Linked DNA regions of Homo sapiens: regions 1, 2, 3 and 4 are each linked to region 5. The links are contacts of gene promoters, found by promoter capture Hi-C in human tissues and cell types (Jung and others, 2019). All regions are on one chromosome and are shown on one strand. Each heading gives the region's core, a stretch centred on a gene start or on the middle of the fragment in contact. The rest is flanking DNA. Distances are from core to core; before and after follow the strand shown. Region 1 overlaps ARK2C (arkadia (RNF111) C-terminal like ring finger ubiquitin ligase 2C). Region 2 overlaps ARK2C (arkadia (RNF111) C-terminal like ring finger ubiquitin ligase 2C). Region 3 overlaps LOXHD1 (lipoxygenase homology PLAT domains 1). Region 4 overlaps ARK2C (arkadia (RNF111) C-terminal like ring finger ubiquitin ligase 2C). Region 5 holds the start of LOXHD1 (lipoxygenase homology PLAT domains 1).

Region 1 (2,808 bases), core at 219-2,718, 220 kb after region 5:
TATAGAATACTCTATCCAATAAGAGTAGAATATACACTTTTTAAAAATACTTATAGAACATTTACTAAGATAGTATAAATGCTGGACCATAAAACAAGTCTCAATAAATATAAAAGGATTAGAATTACACAGAGTATGGTTTCTGATCACACTGGTATTAAATTAGAAATCAACAACAAGAAAAGTCTGCAAAATCCCAAGTTTTCAAAAATTAAATAATAAACTTCTAAATTACCCAGGGTCAAAAAGAATTCATAATGCTAACTAGAAAGTTTGTAGTCCTTAAAGAAAAATTCAGTTTTATATGCTTATATTAGAAAAGAAAACCCAAAGTCATGATCTAAATTTCCGCCTTAAGAAGCTAGAGCCCAAATAAGTAGAAGGGAGGAAATAATAAAATCAAGATCAGAAATCAGTGAAATAAATCAGTGAAATAAAAAACAAGTAATGGGATCAAAGGCTATTTTCTTTTTCTTTTTTTTTTTTTTGAGACGGAGTTTCGCTCTGTCGCCCAGGCTGGAGCGCAGTGGCGCGATCTCGACTCACTGCAAGCTCCGCCTCCCGGGTTCACGCCATTCTCCTGCCTCAGCCTCCCGAGTAGCTGGGACTACAGGCGCGCGCCACCATGCCCGGCTAATTTTTGTATTTTTAGTAGAGACGGGGTTTCACCGTGTCAGCCAGGATGGTCTCGATCCCCTGACCTCGTGATCCGCCCGTCTCGGCCTCCCAAAGTGCTGGGATTACAGGCGTGAGCCACCGCGCCCGGCCTCTTTTTTTTTTTTTTTTTTTGAGATGGAGTCTCGCTCTTTCGCCCAGGCTCACTGCAAGCTCCGCCTCCCGGTTCACGCCATTCTCCTGCCTCAGCCTCCCGAGTAGCTGGGACTACAGGCGCCCGCCACTGCACCTGGCTAATTTTTTGTATTTTTAGTAGAGACGGGGTTTCACCATGATAGCCAGGATGGTCTGGATCTCCTGACCTCATGATCTGCCTGCCTCAGCCTCCCAAAGTGCTGGGATTACAGGCATGAGCCACCGCGCCTGGCCTGATCAAAGGCTATTTTCTAAAGAGTAGTACAAATGATTAAATTTCTATCTAGATTGATCAAGAATGAAAGAGAGAACATACAAATTACTCATATGAGGAATGAAAGAGGGAGCTTTATTACAGATTCCAGATGTTAAAATGATAAGAAAATATTATGAATAGCCTTATGCCAGTACATCCAATTAAATGAGAAAATTTATTGAAAGACAAACTACCAAAATTACCAGATGCAGTGGCACACACCTGTAATCCCAGCTACATGGGAAGCTAAGGCAGGAGAATCATTTGGGCCTAGGCATGTAAGACCAGCCTGCGTCTGGGCACAGTGGCTCACACCTGTAATCCCAGCACTTTGGGAGGTGAGGTGGGAGGATTGCTTGAGCACAGAAGTAGAGGATCAGCCTAGGCAACATAGCAAGACTCTGTCTCTACAAAAATTTAAAAAACAAAAAGTTAGCTGGGCACAGTGGTGCACACCTGTAGTCCCAGCTACTTGGGAGGCTGAGGCAGGAGGATCACTTGAGCCCAGGAGATCGAGGCTGCAGTGAGCCAAGGTGCACTCCAGCCTGGGTGACAGAGCAAGACCCTGTATCTAAAAATTAATTAATTAATTAAAAATAATAATGCCAATCCTACACAACCTCTTCCAGAAAGTAGATGAGGAAAGACTTCCCAAACCATTCAATGAGGCAAGCAGTGCACTGATATAAAAATCAGACAAAGGCATTTCAAGGAAAAAAAAAACCCTATAAACCAATATTACTCATGAACAAAGATGTAAAAATTACTTAACAAAATTTTAGCAATTTGAATCCAGGAACATGTAGATTAAATGAGACTTATGTGACATATCAACCAATCACAATGTGTAAAACTTATTCGGATCTTGATTGATACAAAGTATAACAGAAATTTTAATACTGGCTAGATATTTGATTATAGTAAAAATTATTATTAAATTTCTTTGTGTTAATAGTGGTATCAAAGTAAGGATGTGAAAAAGCAGAATCATTATCTCTCGAGATACATAGTGAAATATTTACAGATGAAATAATATGATGCCTGGATTTGTTTCCAAATATACTAGTTTCTCCTTTTCTGTGAGGGATATGTTCCAGGACACCAGTGGCTGCCTGAAACTGTGAATAATAAGGAATCCTATATATACTATGTTTCTTCCTATACTGTATATTCACACCAATGATAAAGCTTAATTTATAAATTAGGCACAGTAAGAGGCTAACAATAACCAATAACAAAATAGAACAATTATAACAATATACTGCAAAAAATGTTATGTGAATATGGTCTCTCTCTCTCTCTCTCTCTCTCAGTCTCTCAAAATGCTGTAATATCTTCAGACCGTGGTTTACATGGGTAACTGAAACCCTGGAAAGCGAAACCACAGGTAATGGAGACTACTGTAATATCAGGACCGGGGAAGCGAGAGAACAAAGATGAGTAAAACTGGCCATGAGATCTGGGCGTGGTGGCTCACGCCTGTAATCCCAGCACTTTGAGAGTCCGAGGCGGGTATATCACGAGGTCAAGAGATCGAGACCATCCTGGCCAACATGGTGAAACCCTGTCTCTACTAAAAATACAAAAATTAGCTGGGTGTAGGGTGTGCGCCTGTAGTCCCAGCTACTCAGGAGGCTGAGGCAGGAGAATCGCTTGAACCTGGGAAGCAGAGTTTACAGTGAACCAAGATCGTGCCACTTCATTCCAGCCTGGCGACAGAGCGAGACTCCGTCTCAAAAAAA
Region 2 (2,735 bases), core at 175-2,674, 200 kb after region 5:
AGCCACCATGCCCTGCCTTTTCTCCCTCTTTCTTCTCTCCTCAGAAGGTGAGACAGCACAGCACAGTGGTTTCCCACGGGATCTGTGTCACATTCTACTTGAATCTAAGGGACCCTAAAGATCTCCCAGTTCTCCTCACTCACCCCACCCAGAAAACTGAGACTCAGGGGCCAAGGGACTTGCTCAAGGTCATTGGGACGTCTGTCATGGAGCAGATTTGAAAACCTGAGCCTCCCGGCTCCCCAGTCCAGGGCTCCTTCTAAGAAGTCAGGCTTTTTGGCTCTCTGATGTTCCTCTTGTAATGTCTGGAGGGCTCCAATTCTGGAGTTGGAGGCCAGGTGGAGACAGTGGCCTCTAGTGCCCCAAGACTTTCCTCAGAGGATACCGGCTGGGTGGGCTGAGGTTGTGGGAGGAGCGAGGGAGGAGGAAAGGCAGGTTCATGATGGAGAGGCAGGGTTGTGGTGGGGGCGGGGGGGTGCCAAGTGTAGCAAGTGAAAGGATTACCCCAGTCTGCTGACAAGTGCAAATTATATTTATATATGTGCTAAATACAGTCACTATATTGGAGTTTTTCACTAGATCACAGCATACAGAATCAAAGGTTTGCATTTCGTATGGAATGTATCCAAAGAGGCCAGCACCACGGTAGGACAGCTTGCAATCACACACCCTGATAGTTCGGACGAAATAAAGTTTGCAGAATTTTATTTAAATTTTTTTTTTGTATTCGTAGTTGTTTGTCATCGTACCAATGCATGCAAAGCATTCCACTCCCAGAAACAACGCCAAAATGAGGTAATAGGAGTAATAAAAAAAATTAGTATCCTTTCTAAATAAATAAATTATAATTAAAAATGCAAAACAACTATAAAAATAATTAAATAAGAACCCACGATATCTACAAGTTAGTCATAAATTATGATTGTTAAATATAAGGCATTTAAACTCACAAAACCCTGTAAACTAGCAACGTGCCATGTTTTTTGTTTTTTGTGTTTTTTTTTTCATTTTTGTTTTTCTATCAGCTGAAATCGCTCTAGCATTTGCTCTACGCGCGCAGGAGATGAAACACAAGGGGGCCTGACAGACGTTGCTACAGCCCCACGCAGGGAGTGTTTGTCCCGCCTACAGGCGGGGGGCTTAGGGGATTTCTTTAGGAAAAAAAGAAAAAAAGTCTGGTGCTTTTTTCTTCACCATTGAAAAACTGTGCTTGTTCATTAGGCGTAAAGAGTTAAGAATACTTGCACGGAGGCTGGGAACATTTGCAGAAGAGGAGCTTGAGTCCTGCCACAGGTGGTGGCCAAGGGCAACTGGGTGCCGAAGGGGGTCCTGGCCAGGTGGAGGGGCAGCCCCTGCTCACCCTCTGCTTGCACCCAACCAAGCTTGTGGTGTTGGGTTGATTGATTGGCGTCCTCGGTGGACCCGCGGCGGCACAGCTGCTGCAGCTGCTAGGACGCCCAACTTAAACCCTGGGGCTGCTCTCACCCCAGAAGGCACTCATGCGTCTCAGTCAAGAAAGGGTCTGAGTCCCTTGAGTTGAGCAGGAGGAGGACTTACCAGTGGTCTCCCCTCCTGGAGGTGGTGGATGTGAGATGCTGAGGCCTGACCCTGCCTCTTCTCCACTCTTCCCAGACTCCCTGACCAGTGCCGGGAGCAGAAGCACAGACCCTGGCCCTCTCTTGTCCCCCAAACAGCTGCCCGGCTAAAGAAGTGGGAGCTGCAGGGTTCTGAGCACCCCATCACCTCCTGTCCCCATCTGTGGGGGAAGGAGGAGGGGCTTCAGGGTCTACCCCCAAAGTAAGCAGCTTCCCTCTCCCCTCTGGTGGTCCCCTCCCCAGTCCCTAATATTAGCCTGGGGCAGAGAATTGGGAGGGGGGAGGGGACGAGGGCCCACTGTCTCACCCAGCACGTGTGCCCCCAGCCCAGTCTGAAACAGAGTGTGTGCCCACAGAAAGTCCTTTTCAATAGCTGGGTGGGCGCACAGCTCTGCCGCCTTGAAGATGTGTTGATGTTAGGGAGTGTGAGTGTCAGAAGGAAATTAGCAAGCATCCAATCCAACCTCCTTAGGTTGTAACTGAGGAAACTAAGGCCCAGAGAGACAAAGGGAAGTTTCTAGTGTTGCCCACTTTGTCAGTGAAGAGCCCAGACTGGAACCTGGGACACCAGCTCTAGTTCTATCCTGGCCTCCCCACTGACTCCCTCCCACTTGCCAGCCTTTCAGGCCAGTCTCAGCAGAAAGAATGAAAGACTGAGACTAAGAGAGGAGTGAGCTTCCTAGACCACCCTAGCTACCTCCAGGCCAAAGCCATCTTCCGATGAATTCTTGGTTTTCACCCAGCCATTGGAGAGAATGGGGCAGAAGTCTCAACTTCCTGTGGCTATCAGTAACTAGCTTTCCCCCAAAATCCTGACTCAGATGTACTTTCCCCACTGGTGAGATCTCCAGCCTTTAGCCCTGGAGACATTTTCATACACTGGAGCTACTGAGTTGGACGCTGTGATACTCATTGCTGCTAACCCTGAATCAGGTTATTCACCATTTTTGCAGCATTGGATGTGTCTTGTCTCCTCAGCTAGATTGTGAGCTCCTCAAAGCTATTGTCTCTCCCAGCGCCTGCACCGGTAGGCACTCAATAAAGATTTTATAGAACACCAGGATATTAGTGCTGGGAGAAATCTCCTGCCAGGAGCCACTTCCCCCACTTTCTGCCTGCAGGTGGCCAGAGCAGCTATTC
Region 3 (2,776 bases), core at 7-2,506, 170 kb after region 5:
GGCTGGGAGTGGTGCTACATTGAGCCACAGGTATGGCCGTCTCTCATCTTCATTATTTTTATCATGTCTCTGAGATAAAGGCACAGAAACAGAGCTACCCCTTTGGATCCAGAATCCCAGACCGTCAGTCATCCAGGTACTGCAGCAAGGGGTCTATGTCTGGGGACACTTGAGCCAGACACTTACTGTGTCCTCCAGGGTGCTGGTTCCATCCCTGGTCTGGTCCCTGGGGAGTGAGCCTGGATCACATGTCACACTCTCTCAGTATCTTGGCTTAGGGGGATCAGGTAGCAATTTTAATTAGGGTGGTTGGATAGACATCTCTGAGACATGACTTTTGAGTAAGGATGAGAAGGAGGTGAGTCAGTGAGCCACGCCACTATGGGTGGGGGAGGGAGAGGGAAAGAGGGAAGGACTCCAGGCAGAAGGACAGCATTGCAGAGCTCTAGGGAGGAGCACACCTAAGTGCTCTGGGTGCAGCTAGGAGGCAGAGTGGCTGGAGTGAGAAAGAGAGAAAGTACCAGGACACAAGGTGGGAGAGGAAATGGGGAGCCAGGTTTTCCTCTTACCCCACGGTACTTTGGCTCTTTTTTGCAGGGTTATCTATCACATTCTGTCATATGGTACAGTCCATGTTTGTGTCTGGGGCTAGAGATTGAGTTCTAGTGTCACCCAGGGTCTAGTCCAGTCCTGGCACTTGGCACCTACTTAACCAGTGTTGGAGGAGTGCACACCTGTGCAGACACGATTGAGTGAATAGCAGGGTGAGATGGAGTGACACCAAGACAAGATGCAAGTGAGACTGCTTGCTGGAGCAAGTGCAAGGGTCTTTGGGGTGGCTTTGCCTGCCTGGGTCTTTCCCCTTTGCTTTTGCACTGGGCCCCACTTCTTGTCCCTTCTCAGCACCAATCTCCATTTTGCATCTCACCCCTGTAGCTGAATGTTCAGCCCCACCTCCTGCTGCATTCCCAGTGGCTCCCATATTTGCCTACAAAGAGGTTGCTACTATAAATAAAATGAGAGCATTCGCTGTAGCCCCAGAATCCGGGCAGATTCTACCTACAACGCCTCAATCGTGGTGCTTTTAACCTGCCTCCCCCACCCCCAGGCTGCAGCCTAAGATCAAATGAAGGACCGGAGGCCGTGACCCTCTTGCTCCCGCCCTGAAGACGGGCACTGCTTCCCCTGTGCTGACCCTCCCCCACCTCCTCCATTACAGCCTACGAGATCGTCATAGAAACGGGCAACGGAGGCGAAACCAGGGAGAACGTCTGGCTCATCCTGGAGGGCAGGAAGAACCGATCCAAAGAGTTTCTCATGGAAAATTCTTCTAGGCAGCGGGCCTTTAGGAAGTAGGAAGGGGAGGCCCATGGGAAGTGGTGGGGGGTGGGTAGGTAAGGGAGGACCCCGAGAATCTCCCTCTTGGGTGGGAGCCATAGGTACACAAATGGGCCTAACCAGCAAGTACTTACTGAGCACCTACTGTGTGCCAATCCTGTGCAAGCACCCAGGGGCTAAACAGGCAATGGTGAAAGGGAAAGCATGGGACTGCATTTAATGGGAGCCCACCCTGTGGATGGACAGTGCTACTCAGTCCAAACATTGCCCCACATCTACGTAGACAAGGACCACACCTCCTTCCATCAGAGCCACCTCTGAACTGTTCGGATGCCCACTTCATCTCCTCACTCTCTCCAGGACTGCTGAGACAGCCTCCACCTCCCCCTTAACTCTGCTACATCTTTCTCTTAGTCCATTCTGACTGCTATAACAGAATACCTCAGACTGGTAGCTTAGAAACAACAGAAATGTATTTCTCACAGTTCTAGAGGCTGGGAGTCCAGGACCAAGGCACCAGCAAATCTGGTGTCTGGTGAGGGCCTGCCTCCTGGTTCATAGCCATCTTCTCACTGTGTCCTCACATGGCAGAAGGCGGAGGGAGCTCTCCAGGGCCCCTTTTATAAAGGCATGAATCTCATTCATGAGGGCTCAGCTCTCATGACCCCATCACCTCTCAAAGACCCTACCTCCAAATACCATCACACTGGAGAATAGGTTTCAACATATAAATTTGGGGGAACTGGGGCACAGACATTCCATTTATAACAACCTTTTCTTCAAATCTCTACCTCAGGATGAAGTCTGGACACCTTAGACTGGCACTTACCCCCACAGGCTGCCTGCACCCATACCTTCTCCATTAGCTTTTCCCTCCCTGAACCCAAACTTCACCCAAGCCAGCATTCCCCCAGAAATATCTGCACCTCCACACCCCACTGTTCCCACCTATGACTTTGCTAAGACATGTCTGTTACAGGGGACTCTTCCCTTCCCCTCCTCCCTCTGCTCTCCAAGTCTCACCACCCTCCCCATCTCCATCCTGCATAACGATGTCACCATTCTTTGGTGCTGAGGCCAGGCAGCTAGTGGGGCTTTTTCATCGTGATTGTCTTGGTCCCAAACTGAACTGAACCCCTCAAAGCCTCCAGGACTGCCATGAGCTCCTGCTTGCCATCCCATCCCTGTTCCCTGGCCCACTGCTTGGAATGCAGCAGGCCCCCGACAAATGCTTACCTGCTTCAGTGGGCAAAGGCAGCTCATGGACCACACTTTTGTTTCCTGCAGGGGGACCACAGACACGTTTGAGTTTGACAGCATCTACTTGGGGGACATTGCCTCCCTCTGTGTGGGCCACCTTGCCAGGGAAGACCGGTTTATCCCCAAGAGAGAACTTGCCTGGCATGTCAAGACCATCACCATCACCGAGATGGAGTAC
Region 4 (2,700 bases), core at 180-2,679, 240 kb after region 5:
CCTTTGACTCTGAGGAGGGTATCTGAGCAGAGAAGTGACAGGTCTTGACTCTCTGGCTGCTGAATAGAATAGGCTGCAGAAGGCAAAGGTAAGAAGCAGGAACCAGGGAAGAGATGATGGTTTCTTGGACTAGGGTGGCAATCGGGGGAAGGTGAAAGGAATGGTCAGATCCAAAATATATTTCATTTCAAGGGTACAGGTGACAAGATTTGTTCATGGATTGGATGTAAAACCTGAGAGACAGAGGACAAGATAGACTCCATATCTTGCTTGCTAAGCAACTAGAAGATTGGTGTGGCTGATAGTTTGCAAAAATGGCCTCAATTTCTCCCCTCCTTGTATGCTTACCCTCCCATACAAGCTCCTCCCATTAAAGGCAGAGTCTACTTTCCCACCCCTTGCCTCTGGGCATGGCCACGTGACTGGCTTAGGCCAATAGAAGGTAGCAGAAGTGACATCATGCCAATTCTGAGCCCAGGCCTCAAGAGACCTTGCAGTTTCCACTCTCTCTTGGTCTCCTGCCTCTACCATAAGAACAAGCCCAGGCTAACCTGCTGGAGAATGACAGACCATGTGATATACAAATAAACTGTCCTAGACCCATCTGTCCCAGCTGACTGCAGCAATGTGAGTGAGCCCAAGAAGACCAAAAGGACTTCCCAGCTGAGCCCAACCCAAATTACCAACCCACTGACTTGTGAGCTGCATAAAAGGTTGTTGTTTTAAGGCCAAATTTTGGAGTGATTGTTATACAGAAAAAGCTAACTGATACAAATGGCGTTGTCGTTTATTGAGGTGGGGACTCAATTTTGAGTTGTGCTCTCAATGTTCTGAATGTGAATCTGAATGCTTAAAGAGAAAAGTCCCTGTATTGTCTCCATGCAACACCCAGAGCACCCTCAGGACAGGGCTGGATGCAATCTGGGTGCTTGGCGGATGCTTACGGATGGAGGGAGGGAAGGATGGATGATGACTTCTTCATTGGCTTCCTTATCATGAGCCAGGTTTCTGTGTCACCCTTCTCCTCACAAAGCCAGAAGAGCTTTAAATGCCTCCTCCCTCCATGCCCACTGCTGTCTCAAGAGTTTATAGTTGAGCTTTGACTTCCTAGAGCTTTCCTGCAGATCCGTGTGTTTCCTTGAGAATGCAAAGCACTGATTTTTAGCCTTGATTTTGACCTCCCACACCCAGCCTTTTCCCAGATGTGCTGGCAAATAGACAAATCAATTGTTTTGAGTTTTTCTTCCTCTCCACCCCCATGACATGTTAATTAGCCATGAAAATGCCAGCAGCAAAGTCAGGAAGGCTGAGGACAAACCCCAGCCCTGAGTGGCCAGCTGGTGCAGCACTGGGTGTCCAAATTGGTTTCCATTTTCAAGGCTTCAGGCACTGTTTTCTGCCTCCCTGCTTACCTCTCCTCCCACCTGGCACTCCAGGTCCCTCGTGAACTCTGCTTCAGTCCCTCTGTGATGATCCCAGTCATATCAGCATATCACTTTACCTGTCACAAAGCTTTTCCCAAATTCAGCCCTACAACCATCCAGTGCAATGAATTATGGGCATTATTCCCATTATTCCCATTTTAGAGATGAAGAAACTGAGGCTCAAGGGTTAGAAAGACTTGCTCAGCATCACTTGGCCCAGGTTGGGAATCTGGAGCCTGTTTGATTCCAAGCCCGTCTTTCACTCTCAGCACCACCAAAACACGTTCTCAATAAAGGGCCTAGTGCACCAGGGAGGGGGCTCCTTCAGCAACTTTTTTATTTTTATTTATTTTTTTATTTTTTTTATTTTTTTTGAGACAGATCCTTGTTCTGTCGCCCAGGCTGGAGTACAGTGGCACGATCTCGGCTCACTGCAAGCTCTACCTCCCAGGTCCACGCCATTCTTCTGCCTCAGCCTCCCGAGTAGCTGGGACTATAGGCGCCCACCACTGCCTATAAATATAAAAAATTTTTTGTATTTTTAGTAGAGATGGGGTTTCACCGTGTTAGCCAGGGTGGTCTCCATCTCCTGACCTCGTGATCCGCCCACCTCGGCCTCCCAAAGTGTTGGGATTACAGGTGTGAACCACTGTGCCTCGCCTTCCTTCAGCAACTTACTGGTAAGGTCACTGCCTTGGGGCTCACGTGGGTATTCACATTTCGATGAGTGTCAGTCAAACTCTGGCAGAGGTCATGTAGGCCTGGGGAGGGGACACTCTGGACTGACACAGGGACTCCACCAGGCCCTGAAACTGCAGCAGCGCACAGGCTGACTTGGCTTCTGCTCCCTCCCCTGCCCATTTCCTGGGCTTTGGCTCCAGATGTTATCTGAAGCCGATGGAGTGTCCATGAGCTGAGAATAAAGGCCCAGCAGGACTGCGGCTTAGCTCAGCCCCTACTCCCTCACACATCCTCCTGCAGCCCTGGGTGGAAGTGCACGCTCCCCATTCACAAGGCTGTGATGACACAAAATGAAAATGTTTCCTAGGGGTGAAATGGCTCCCAATGAATCTAACACGGCCACTCATATGGCCTTTCCCAGAGGCCTCTGCAACCTGCCCTCCGCACTGGGGCAAAGGAGGACCTGAGGACCAGGATTCCACGTGCTGTGTTTGCCCTTCTGGAGTCTCAAGGCTGTGTGTATGTGCATGTGTCTGTGAGCGTGCATCTGTGTATGTGTGTATTGTGTGGTACGTGGCATGATCATGAATGTATA
Region 5 (2,700 bases), core at 134-2,633:
CTAAGAAACGTTTTATTATCTTTTCCCTGAATGGGTACTCGTGTAAAATGAGTTTTCTTAGTAGATTCCTAGAGATCCTTAAGGAAGGTCTCTTCCTGAAGAATCCAGGTGTGTAAACCACATATTGCCAGAAGGGGGCGCGCGCCACCCACCATTAAACTTCACTCCTGGTCCTCAGAGGACTTTGAGCTGCTTCAAGGGCGGCCCCTCAGCTGAATAGGGGAAGAGGGGAGGTTGATCTTTCCTGGGTAGGAACGTTCGGGGTTAGAGATGCCTCCCCCTAGTGGAAGATTTGGATGGCTCCAAAGAGCAGGGCAGGACCAAAGCTGCCCCAGGCTGCCGGGGAGGCCTGTGAGTGCCGACTGCTCCTCAGGCGTCCGCTCCAAATCCTCTCTTCCTCTCCACCTGAAATTCCCCTTTAGAGTCACTATTTTGGCTTAGAGGACAAAATCACACGTGTTGCTTCTAGAGGACTCCTGTTAGCACACCTAAGTTACCTGAGAAGCGATTCAGGGACCCTCAACATGGCTGCACATGAAAGTCACCAGGAGCTTTAAAAACTGGGGCCCAAGCTGCGTCCCAAACCAAGCAAATCAGAATCCTTGGGGATGGGACCCACGCATTAGCGTTCAACACCTCTCTGGGGGCTTCTGGTGTGCAGCCCGGGCTGTGCGCCCTGGGGTAGGAGCTTGCTGATGCCCTCCCGTGAGTCCAGGTGGTGAGCTGATCTAGTTAGTGAGTTCACCTGGGAGGGCATCGGCTACGATGATGTTTAAACTTTAGTGCATATAAAGCTCACCTGGCAGGGGGAGCGGGGAGAGTTTTCTGGTGCCCTAGCTTTCCTCGTGCCCAGAGGCCACTTCCGGAAGCCCGCAGTCTTGATGAGATGGAAGCAGAGAGAGAGAACGAGAAGGATCCAGCGAGAACCCCGCCTGCTCCGTAAGACGATCAGAGGTCATGAATAATGGAGAGAAACGGGGGCCTTTGAGTCCTGGGAGCCTGGCTGATTCCGGGGCCCCGCCTTCCTCAGGAGGGTCCCGTGTGGGCTGTAAGGCTTGGGAGATCTCCTGGGTGAGGAGCCCTCACCTGTCCCTGGGGTGGCCTGGAGGGATCCCAGGTGACCCCCTGGCTGTGAGGCCAGGTGGGAAATGGACTTCAAGGGCTCCGTGTCACCTGATTCTCCATAGGGAGGAGAGAGGGCTGGTGGGGAGGGGAGAGAGGAAGGAAGTCAGCCTGCCCTCAGCGCCATGAATAAGTGATGAGGCCCAAAGAGAAGCCCCGGGGCAGGTACAGAGGAGGAGGAGGTGGCTCACCAGAGGGTGGTGGGAGGGGACAGGGACAGGAGGTTCAGAGATAAGGCACTGAGGTTCAGCTCAGGAGCCAGAGAAGGCAGAGGGAACAGCACCTTGGGCACGGGGAAGCCAAGAAAACGGGGCACTCTGGCCCACCCAGGCCTGAGCTATAGGAGGGCCGTGGGCGCCAGAGCTCAGGGAGGAGGTCTCAGGTTCCCGCAGGTGTGAGGAGGCGGCACAGTGAGCCTGCGAGCGCTGGGAGAAGGCAGCCGACAGAATGATGCCCCAGAAGAAAAGGCGGAGGAAGAAGGACATCGACTTCCTGGCCCTGTACGAAGCGGAGCTGCTGAACTACGCCTCGGAGGACGACGAGGGGGAGCTGGAACACGAGTACTACAAGGCCAGAGGTGCGGGGTCCCAGCCTGCGGGGGGCGGGTGGTGCAGCTGGCTGCGGTGGGCAGGGGTCTGTTCCTGTCTATGGGGAGTCATTCTAAGATTTCGGAGCAAGCCCTTCCTCACTGATTATCCCATGTGTCTGTTCCATATCCCCTCGGAGTAAGAAGGCAGGCATTATGCAGGGATGGTGGGGTCCCTGTTGTACAGACAGGTGGAGCAACTTGCCTTTAGCCCCCGATTCTCAGTGGAACAGAATAGACTAGAGCCACAGTGCCCCCATGGCCCCATGTTCTCCAGCTCCTGAACATCCCCAAAGCCACGTTCCAGTCTGGTCCCCGAGTAGGTGGTCTGCATCAGGCAGAGCGCCCTGAACTGCTGGGGTCATGAAAGGATGTCTTGGGGAGGAAGCCTGACAGCTCATCCTATGCCCACTGTGGTTGATGGAGACAGGGAGCCTGGGGCTTTGCAAGGAGATGTCCATCCCATATGTCGAAGGCGGCCGGTGCTCTGGACCCCAGGGCCTTGTCCTTCTAGTCTCATCTTTCCCTGGGCCACATGAGACCTGCTTGAAATTGCTCTAACTCCTTGCCAGGTAAACCAAAGAAGTGAACTGTGACCCTAGAGCTGGTTTTGGCCAGCAGAGTTTAAGTTGTTTTTTTCCTTTCCAGCGTTTTGAAATCCTTTTTTCTGTGAATGCCAATAGGCTGTGGACGTCCAGCTTATCACAGTCTCCACCACTCCCTGTCATCTCATACTAGGTCTGGTTTACTCATCAGTGCTGCCTGCCTAGTCTCTGAAGCCATTTAAATTCTCAATGCTGACTCCAAAGTGGCTCACCAGTCCCCGTAAGCGCCATAGTCATCCATGCATTCACTCATTCATTCATTCAGCAAGTATTTATTGAATGTGTGCTCTGTGCCTGCCCATGGCCTTGTTTGTCTTCCCCTTTCTCCCTCTTCCTGTCCTCACTCTGAAAGCCCAGTTCTGATCCCATCTCTTCCATGAAGCCCTC

Evidence for each region. The method cuts DNA at HindIII sites, captures the fragments that hold promoters and counts their contacts. A contact is called where the count stands out against the background at its distance.
Region 1: a contact is called between a fragment that was not itself captured here and the fragment with the promoter of LOXHD1 in region 5, in 2 of the 25 tissues and cell types used here (lymphoblastoid cells and mesendoderm cells).
Region 2: a contact is called between a fragment that was not itself captured here and the fragment with the promoter of LOXHD1 in region 5, in 1 of the 25 tissues and cell types used here (H1 embryonic stem cells).
Region 3: a fragment that was not itself captured here is called in contact with the fragment with the promoter of LOXHD1 in region 5 in 1 of the 25 tissues and cell types used here (spleen).
Region 4: a contact is called between a fragment that was not itself captured here and the fragment with the promoter of LOXHD1 in region 5, in 1 of the 25 tissues and cell types used here (H1 embryonic stem cells).

Annotation. Positions count from the first base shown.
Region 1 is chr18:46,439,843-46,442,650 of GRCh38, reverse strand. The region is part of intron 3 of ARK2C (arkadia (RNF111) C-terminal like ring finger ubiquitin ligase 2C); the gene reads right to left. Among named protein-coding and RNA genes, the nearest start is that of ARK2C, 110 kb to the right of the region's middle. The HindIII fragment of the contact is 6,852 bases long and covers 1-2,808 here.
Region 2 is chr18:46,458,645-46,461,379 of GRCh38, reverse strand. ARK2C (arkadia (RNF111) C-terminal like ring finger ubiquitin ligase 2C) reads right to left here. Exons shown (of 8, transcript NM_152470.3): 8 at 1-2,735. Among named protein-coding and RNA genes, the nearest start is that of ARK2C, 130 kb to the right of the region's middle. RefSeq lists an enhancer at 2,457-2,735. The HindIII fragment of the contact is 7,215 bases long and covers 1-2,735 here.
Region 3 is chr18:46,483,595-46,486,370 of GRCh38, reverse strand. LOXHD1 (lipoxygenase homology PLAT domains 1) reads left to right here. Exons shown (of 41, transcript NM_001384474.1): 39 at 1,220-1,352; 40 at 2,626-2,776. Among named protein-coding and RNA genes, the nearest start is that of ARK2C, 150 kb to the right of the region's middle. The HindIII fragment of the contact is 5,750 bases long and covers 1-2,776 here.
Region 4 is chr18:46,414,624-46,417,323 of GRCh38, reverse strand. The region is part of intron 1 of ARK2C (arkadia (RNF111) C-terminal like ring finger ubiquitin ligase 2C); the gene reads right to left. Among named protein-coding and RNA genes, the nearest start is that of ARK2C, 82 kb to the right of the region's middle. RefSeq lists an enhancer at 1,762-2,700. The HindIII fragment of the contact is 5,765 bases long and covers 1-2,700 here.
Region 5 is chr18:46,655,903-46,658,602 of GRCh38, reverse strand. LOXHD1 (lipoxygenase homology PLAT domains 1) reads left to right here and starts at 1,383. Exons shown (of 41, transcript NM_001384474.1): 1 at 1,383-1,699. The coding sequence starts at 1,570. RefSeq lists enhancers at 326-375, 186-1,135. The HindIII fragment of the contact is 5,571 bases long and covers 1-2,700 here.